Regions from separate parts of the Homo sapiens genome. Here region 1 is linked to region 2. The links are contacts of gene promoters, found by promoter capture Hi-C in human tissues and cell types (Jung and others, 2019). All regions are on one chromosome and are shown on one strand. Each heading gives the region's core, a stretch centred on a gene start or on the middle of the fragment in contact. The rest is flanking DNA. Distances are from core to core; before and after follow the strand shown.

Region 1 (3,560 bases), core at 321-2,820, 540 kb after region 2:
TATTACAAATCTGTTTTTTCCCCATTATATTTGCTTCTGAGATAATAATATAGCTATTATATAATCTATTTCTGAGATTATAATGCACTATAATGTTTATCAAGCTACTGCTCAACTTGATATAAGGAAGTCAATTTAGTTTTAATTTTGATGCATGGTTTAAGCCAGATCAGCCTTTAAGAAACCTAGAAAAAAATCTAATAGATTTTATTCACAAATATCCCCTGCTGGGAGGTCATTAAAAATGAATGAGAGAATCAGGAGGGGATGGGATGAGTAGAGTGGTCTAGAAAAACAGGACATTGCTCTTTGATGCACTGACTCAAAATTCTCTTCCAATGAGTGAATGATCTTGAGCCAATGTGCATGTTTTATGGTGTTCATGAATGGGAGGTCTCTGAACCCACCTCATTCCAGATTCATAGCTGTCGTGAGTGGGTGGAGGGGCACAGAAGTGGAGAGCTGATTGTGGCTGGAGGCTTTAAATCTATCAAACATTTGGCTGACTCCTGGCCAATAAACAAGGAAAATAACTGTAAATTCCATATTTATTTGTGGCCAAGATATTCCTATGGTTCATTTTTGGTAAGAGCTGAGACAAATCAATAGGGAATCAGCAGTAGGTTATTCTAGAAGTAATGCTGAGAAAATTGGCTATTTGGGGGAAATTTTTTAAAAATTAGATCTTCAATTTATGGGAAATCATATTTTAGATTAAATAAGAAAAGATAGATATACATCAAAATGTTAATTCTAGTTATATTTACAAGATAGAATTTAGGGTGATTTTATTTATGTTTTTGCTCATTAGTATTAAAACTGTGTCTATTATTTGGAAAGGAGAACTTGCAGTATAAAAAAATTATACCCATTACTCTAATTAATAATTCTACTATATGTCCGTCATTAAAAAATCAGATATGTAGGCAAAAATCATCATAGCCTTGTTAAAAACATAAAAACTTTAAGTTAAATTATGGTATATAAACATCATCAAATATTATGCATTCATTTTTAAGGGATATTTACTGATGTGAGAAAATACAATATAATGTCAAAAAAGCCGGATACGTAATACCATATGCCATATGATCTCACTTTTATGCAAATATACCAAAATATTCTCACTGGTTATCCCCAGGTTCTAATATGAGGAGTTATTTTTGTTTTATAGTTTTGTTTTTACTTTTATCTATATATCTCAAATATTCACAAATGACATGCATTACATGTATAGTTAGGGAAAAAAGATCTGTGTATAAAGAATAGTTATGTTCAATCTAATAATTAGTTGCAGTGGCTTCATTTTGAAACTTCACAAGGATTCATCCTCTGAAGGATATTTCAAGAGTTTCTGTAAAAGAGTGCATCACACATAAGTGCTCGGTAAATGTGCACAAAATGAATTTATACTGCCGACCCTGATGCAGCCAACTACGCATTAATGGAATTTGAGGGAGGCTGTGTACCAAAGCTGGTTCCATGCCTTCTCTTTTAGATACATGTCAAAGAGTTCTCTATTTTAAAGACAAGAAAGGCAGAAATTATTAATATTAAATGTTACCCAGAAATATCTCTATACCAGGTATTTTTTCTCTATTAACAGGTATTTTCATTGAGGTACCTGATAAAGTCATCACAAAAGTGATGAAATCACTGGCTGAGTTTTAGCGTCAGTATTTACACAGGATGCTGTAAGGTAAATACTCTGCTCATTTTTTAATCGGGATAGTCCTAAGGGAGGATGCCATTTCTGCTGATGTTTCAAATAATGTTATTAGAAAATACCAGCAGCAAAGAATGCACTGAATAATATTTTCAAAAACAAGAAACTCCTTAATGCATTCCAGGAAGTTGATACTAGGTCACGAAATAAAAGGAGAATTAAATGAGTATAAAAAACATTTGGACTATTGCTTTTCTGATATTGAATCTCATTCCTGTCTCAGTAATACTTGGCATTTGTGGAATGCTTGACTGTGTGTAAAATGTGCGATTGTATTGTTTCAGGAGATAGGAGGGGAAGATTTTATGTGCCACATCTTGTGATTCAGGAAACAGAAACTGAATTTGAATCTGAGTGGCCTTGGAATTTTAGTGACTTGCCCAAAACTGTCACAACAGTGCCTTTCTTCTGGACCATGATGAAGGGTTCTTACTGCTGCCGGGCACTGCCTCTTTTAGATCCCAGGGTGCCTCAGATGTCCTTGCCTGCATGACTGCCCTTGTAGGGTGTGGGGATGCTGCTCATTCAGGTCACATGGGCTCTGAATGTTCCGTCTCTGAAAGGCCTGAGCAGGTCACAGCGAGTAGAAGCTCTGAACGGTTTCGTGGGCACAGTCCCAGGCACAGACAGTACTCAATAAATCCACATCTCATTCTTCTGCCTTTCTGCAGCAATTAGAGAGCACTGGCACCTGCGTGGGACATGCAGTCTTGCTTCCAATCAGTTGGAACCTCATCTCATAAGATTTCAGAGGCTGCCCTGTTCTCAGTTTTTATTGCTTTTTGGAAAGGATTGCTGATCTGCTTTTGCGTAAGATGGCAAAATAAGAATCTAGTCCGTGTCTGTAAACCTTGAAGCACTGCTACTAATCGCTGACAAGGGCTTGATCTGGGGCATAAAGTAGAAGACAGTAAAAGCACCGCACCGCCCAGTAACTCTACTTGTTGCTTTCTGAGTTCATTACCAACAGTTTTAAGCACTTTACTTTGCAGATAAACAATGTTTTCAAGCCACTGAAATCTTACTATAATACTTTCTGGCTCCGTTGCACTTACGCATTTGCTTAATATAATGCCTGCAAGTTCACTGTTCAGTACATTTATCAATCTTATTCCTCCTCTCAACTCCACTCAAAGTTTGCTTTTCCATATTTACCTCGTTATAACATGCATAATTTTACTATTATTCTCTGCACACGTATCTAAGCCCATCACTTGATTGCATACTCCATGAGGACAGAAGGGACCACATGAGTTTTATCTCCCTTTGTTCCCAGCGTGTAGCACTGTACCCCTCACATAGTAAGATATGGAAAAGTATTTGCTGCCTTGTGGAATGAATGAATGAAACATTCAATGTTTTGTCCCAAAATAACGTTTTATTCTTCTGTCAAAGGATTAAAGAACTACTAATTCTTTATTGACTTTTTAGTTTGGATATCTAATAAAATACCAACTGTGACATTAAGAGCTCGAACCACAAAGATGGATGAGACGTGAAAACTTCTTCAAGGAGTTGAGTAAGGGAAGCAACATGGAAGTAGGTTAAACTATTTTTAGATTGCAGAGTCAAGTAATATTTCAGTAAATAAAAGTAATTAATTGATGCTTTTTTTAAGTCTCATGAAGCATTCATCATTTTAAAACTCAAATTTATCTCATATATTACTTAATTACTTAAATGGTAAATACAGTGGCATCTGACACTCATTTTTAATTATCTGGGAAGTTTTTGGTTGGAAAGGGCTGTGGCCAGGCACGATGTCTCATGCCTGTAAACCCAGCACTTTGGGAGGCTGAGGCCGGCCTATCACTTGAGCCCATGAGTTCAAGAC
Region 2 (3,533 bases), core at 350-2,849:
GATGAACAGAAATAAAAATATTTTTTCCATTTTAACCAATAAGAACCTTGTAATGCTTTAAAAAAATTCTCTGTTTAATAAGAAGTTTCACTTTAATATATAAACTCTTTGCAGGCTAAGCGTAGTGGCTCATGCCTGTAATCCCAACACTTTGGGCGGGCAAGGCAGGAGGATCCTTTGAGCCCAGGAGTTCAAGACCAGCCTGGGCAAGATAGTGAGACTCTGTCTCTACCAAAAAAAAAAAACAAAAAAATTAATGTGACGTGGTGGCACCCACCTGCAAGCCCAGCTACTTGGGAGGCTGAGGCAGGAGGATCAGTGTGCCTGGGAGATTGAGGTTGCAGTGAGCTGGGGTTGCACCACTGCACTCCAGCCTGGGAGATAAAGTGAGACTTTGTCAAAAAAAAAAAAAAAAGAAAGAAAGAAAGAGAAAAGAAAAGAAAAGAGGCCAGGTGGCCGGGTGCTGTGGCTCACACCTGTAATCCTAGCACTTTGGGAGGCCGAGGCGGGTGGATCACCTGAGGTCAGGAGTTTGAGACCAGCCTGGACAACATGGTGAAACCCCATCTCTACTAAAAATACAAAAATTAGCTGGGTGTGGTGACGGGCGCCTGTAATCCCAGCTACTAGGGAGGCTGAGGCAGAAGAATTGCTGGAACCCGGGAGGTGGAGGTTGCAGTGAGCCAAGATCGTGCCATTGCACTCCAGCCCGGGGCCAACAACAGCGAGGCTCCATCTCAAAAAAAAAAAGAAAGAAAGAAAGAAAGAAAAAAGACCAGGCGCGGTGGCTCACGCCTGTAATCTCAGCACTTTGAGAGGCCGAGGCAGGCGGATCACGAGGCCAGGAGTTCGAGATGAGCCTGGCCAATATGGTGAAACCAAACCCCGTCTCTACTAAAAACACAAAAATTAACTGGGCGTTAATTTTTGGAGGCTGAGGCAGGAGAATCGCTTGAACCCGGGAGGCGGAGGGTTGTAGTGAGCCGAGATCGCGCCACTGCACTCCATCCTGGGCGACAGAGGGAGACTCTGTCTCAAAAAAAAAAAAAAGAAAGAAAGAAAAGAGAAAAGAAAAGAAAAAGAAGAAGAAAAGAAAAAATTGTTTGTATCAGATTTTCAAAGTGCCAGGAAACCATCCCACTCTACCTCCTTTAAAAAAAAAAAGTGCAGAGTGATTATAACCACTGGCTCTGGAGCCAGGAGCCCCAACTAAAACCCAGGCTTCTCTATTTACTAGGCCTACTTCCTTCCGCCTCACTTTCTTCATGTGTAGAGTGGGGGTGACAGCCAGCCAGCCCTCTCTCCTAAGCTTTTGGAGAGAAATAAATGGATTCATAAGAAAGGACATATTTGTAAATAAAGCAAACGATCGCTGTTGGATTCAGGCCCTCTTGCTTCATTATGCTGAATGTCAGTGTATTACTTAAGTTGTTCCTTTCAGCAGAGTTGACTGTTTCTGCCCAGAAAACCGGCCCTGGGCCAGGAAAATCTGGGCTTCCACACTGGGATGAAAGGTCTGGACGCCCGGATTCGCATATGCAAAGCGTGGGGGCGTGGCCCCGGGCTCCGGGCCAGGCAGGCTCCGCCCCCTTCCCACCAAGAGCGCCTGGATCCATCCGACAGCCGCGGGTGCGTGGTCGTGCGGCAAGTGAGCGATTTGGTGAACAGACACTCCCTTCTGTAGGTAAGAATATCTCGGGGGGCGAATTAATTGAAGAAGCACCGTCATCCCTCGGTCTTAGCAGTGTCGCCTCTCTCTTCCCGGGTTTGGAGAGCTGGGGGCGGGTTCCTGGCTCTGCGGGCCTGGGCTACACTCTGAGCCGCGTGAGGAGCTCTCCCCCTACGCCGCAGCCCGCGTGCTGGGATTCACCCAAGTGGGTTTGTCTGGAATTCCCATTTGCAGCCTTCTGGAAGCGCAGATTAAATAAAATCATGATTCCCGTAAAGTGCCAGCACCTCCTATGGTTACATCCCACGTTCACAGATTTTAACTGAAAAGGCATTTTAGCATAGAATTCCAAATTCCAATCCAAGGATGGAGAAAAGGTCCTTCCTAGTGGGAAAAAGGAAGGTGAGTTTGAATTTAAGAGAGCAGGGGCTTTTTTGGGAACCACTTGAAATTTAGTTAATTGAAACTAAAAGAAAACGCAACTACACCTTACAAAAACACTGCTGGAAAGGATACCTAAGTCATCAAATAATAAATAGTGTGACAGCTGTTTACCAAATCAATGTCGCTGCCGCAAATGTGCAAAAGGTTGGGACTTTCGGAGTGCTTCAAGTTTGAAAAAGGTAAAGGAATAATGTTTTCTAAAAGTACTCTCAGGCCAGGCGCAGTGGCTCACGCCTGTAATCCCAGCACTTTGGGAGGCTGAGCGGGGCGGATTGCTTGAGGTCAGGAATTCGAGACCAGCTTGGCCCTGGGATGAAACCCCGTCTCTACTAAAAAGGCAAAAATTAGCCGGGCATGGTGGCGGGTGCCTGTAATCCCAGCTACACTGGAGGCTGAGGCTGAAGAATGGCTTGAACTTGGGAGGCGAAGGTTGCAGTGAGCCAAGATTGCACCACTGCACTCCAGCCTGGGCGACCCAGCAAGATTCTGCCTCAAAAAAAAAAAAAAAAAAAAAAAAAAAGCACTCTCATGTGTTTTGCTCCTATCAATATTGAAACATTGGTGTCTCCTGTGGCAAAAGGTGTTTTTTTCATCGAGGCACATATATTAAATAGACCAAAACATAACTTCCCAAATATCTTATAAGATTATCCTAGTAGTAGCTGAAATGGACAAAAATACCAATTTCCTTCAGTCATTATTGCTAATAGACCAACAACACTCTTTTAAGGTTGTGTAATGGTAAATGCATACACATTTATTTAACATGCACACAGGGAGAATCAGAGTGATTGATTACCCACCCTGCAACATGTCTCAGAAGCTTATAGACTACCCTGGCAAATGAGGTTACGGGAGGGAGCCGAAGAGCATCCAGCAGAAGTGGATGGGCTTCTGCTAGGGAGCATGAATGGGTCAGGGGAGAGAATAAGCTACATTATCTTGTGAATGGGTCTGTTCAGGTGTGGGGTATATTCTTGGTCTTACAGGGAAGGGAAAAGAAACAGTTGTTCCTTTTGGTGGGTCTGGATCTTAGGCAGACAAAGGTTTTTTTGAGCTGGGAGCCGGGAAGGTCAGAGAGACCTTGAGGTCTCCAGCATGTCAAAGCCCCATATTTTGGGGTATCGGCTTCTGAGTCCCGGCACTTATTAGTGACGAAACTGATGAGTCTGTAGTAGCCAGATCAAAGAAGAACCCAAAGAATGGGTACATTCGTAGATCAGGAATATTGAATAATGAAATATAGATCAGGAATATTGAAACTGGTTTTCCATGGGGGAAAGGAAGACTGTTGTCCTTCATGGGATAAACCTTATTTGCATGTCTATAGACAATAATTACTTAACATTGCCATCAGTTGTTAAAATTTACAGAGTTGTAAAATAGCTCAAATGACCTCTAATTTTTCTTTAATCCAGTT

Evidence for each region. The method cuts DNA at HindIII sites, captures the fragments that hold promoters and counts their contacts. A contact is called where the count stands out against the background at its distance.
Region 1: a contact is called between a fragment that was not itself captured here and the fragment with the promoter of SLC19A3 in region 2, in 2 of the 25 tissues and cell types used here (IMR-90 fibroblasts and lymphoblastoid cells).

The regions. Positions count from the first base shown.
Region 1 is chr2:227,179,166-227,182,725 of GRCh38, reverse strand. All of the region lies in intron 1 of COL4A3 (collagen type IV alpha 3 chain), which reads right to left. Among named protein-coding and RNA genes, the nearest start is that of COL4A3, 16 kb to the right of the region's middle. The HindIII fragment of the contact is 5,974 bases long and covers 1-3,560 here.
Region 2 is chr2:227,716,094-227,719,626 of GRCh38, reverse strand. SLC19A3 (solute carrier family 19 member 3) reads left to right here and starts at 1,599. Exons shown (of 6, transcript NM_025243.4): 1 at 1,599-1,684. RefSeq lists an enhancer at 1,182-2,068. The HindIII fragment of the contact is 9,813 bases long and covers 1-3,533 here.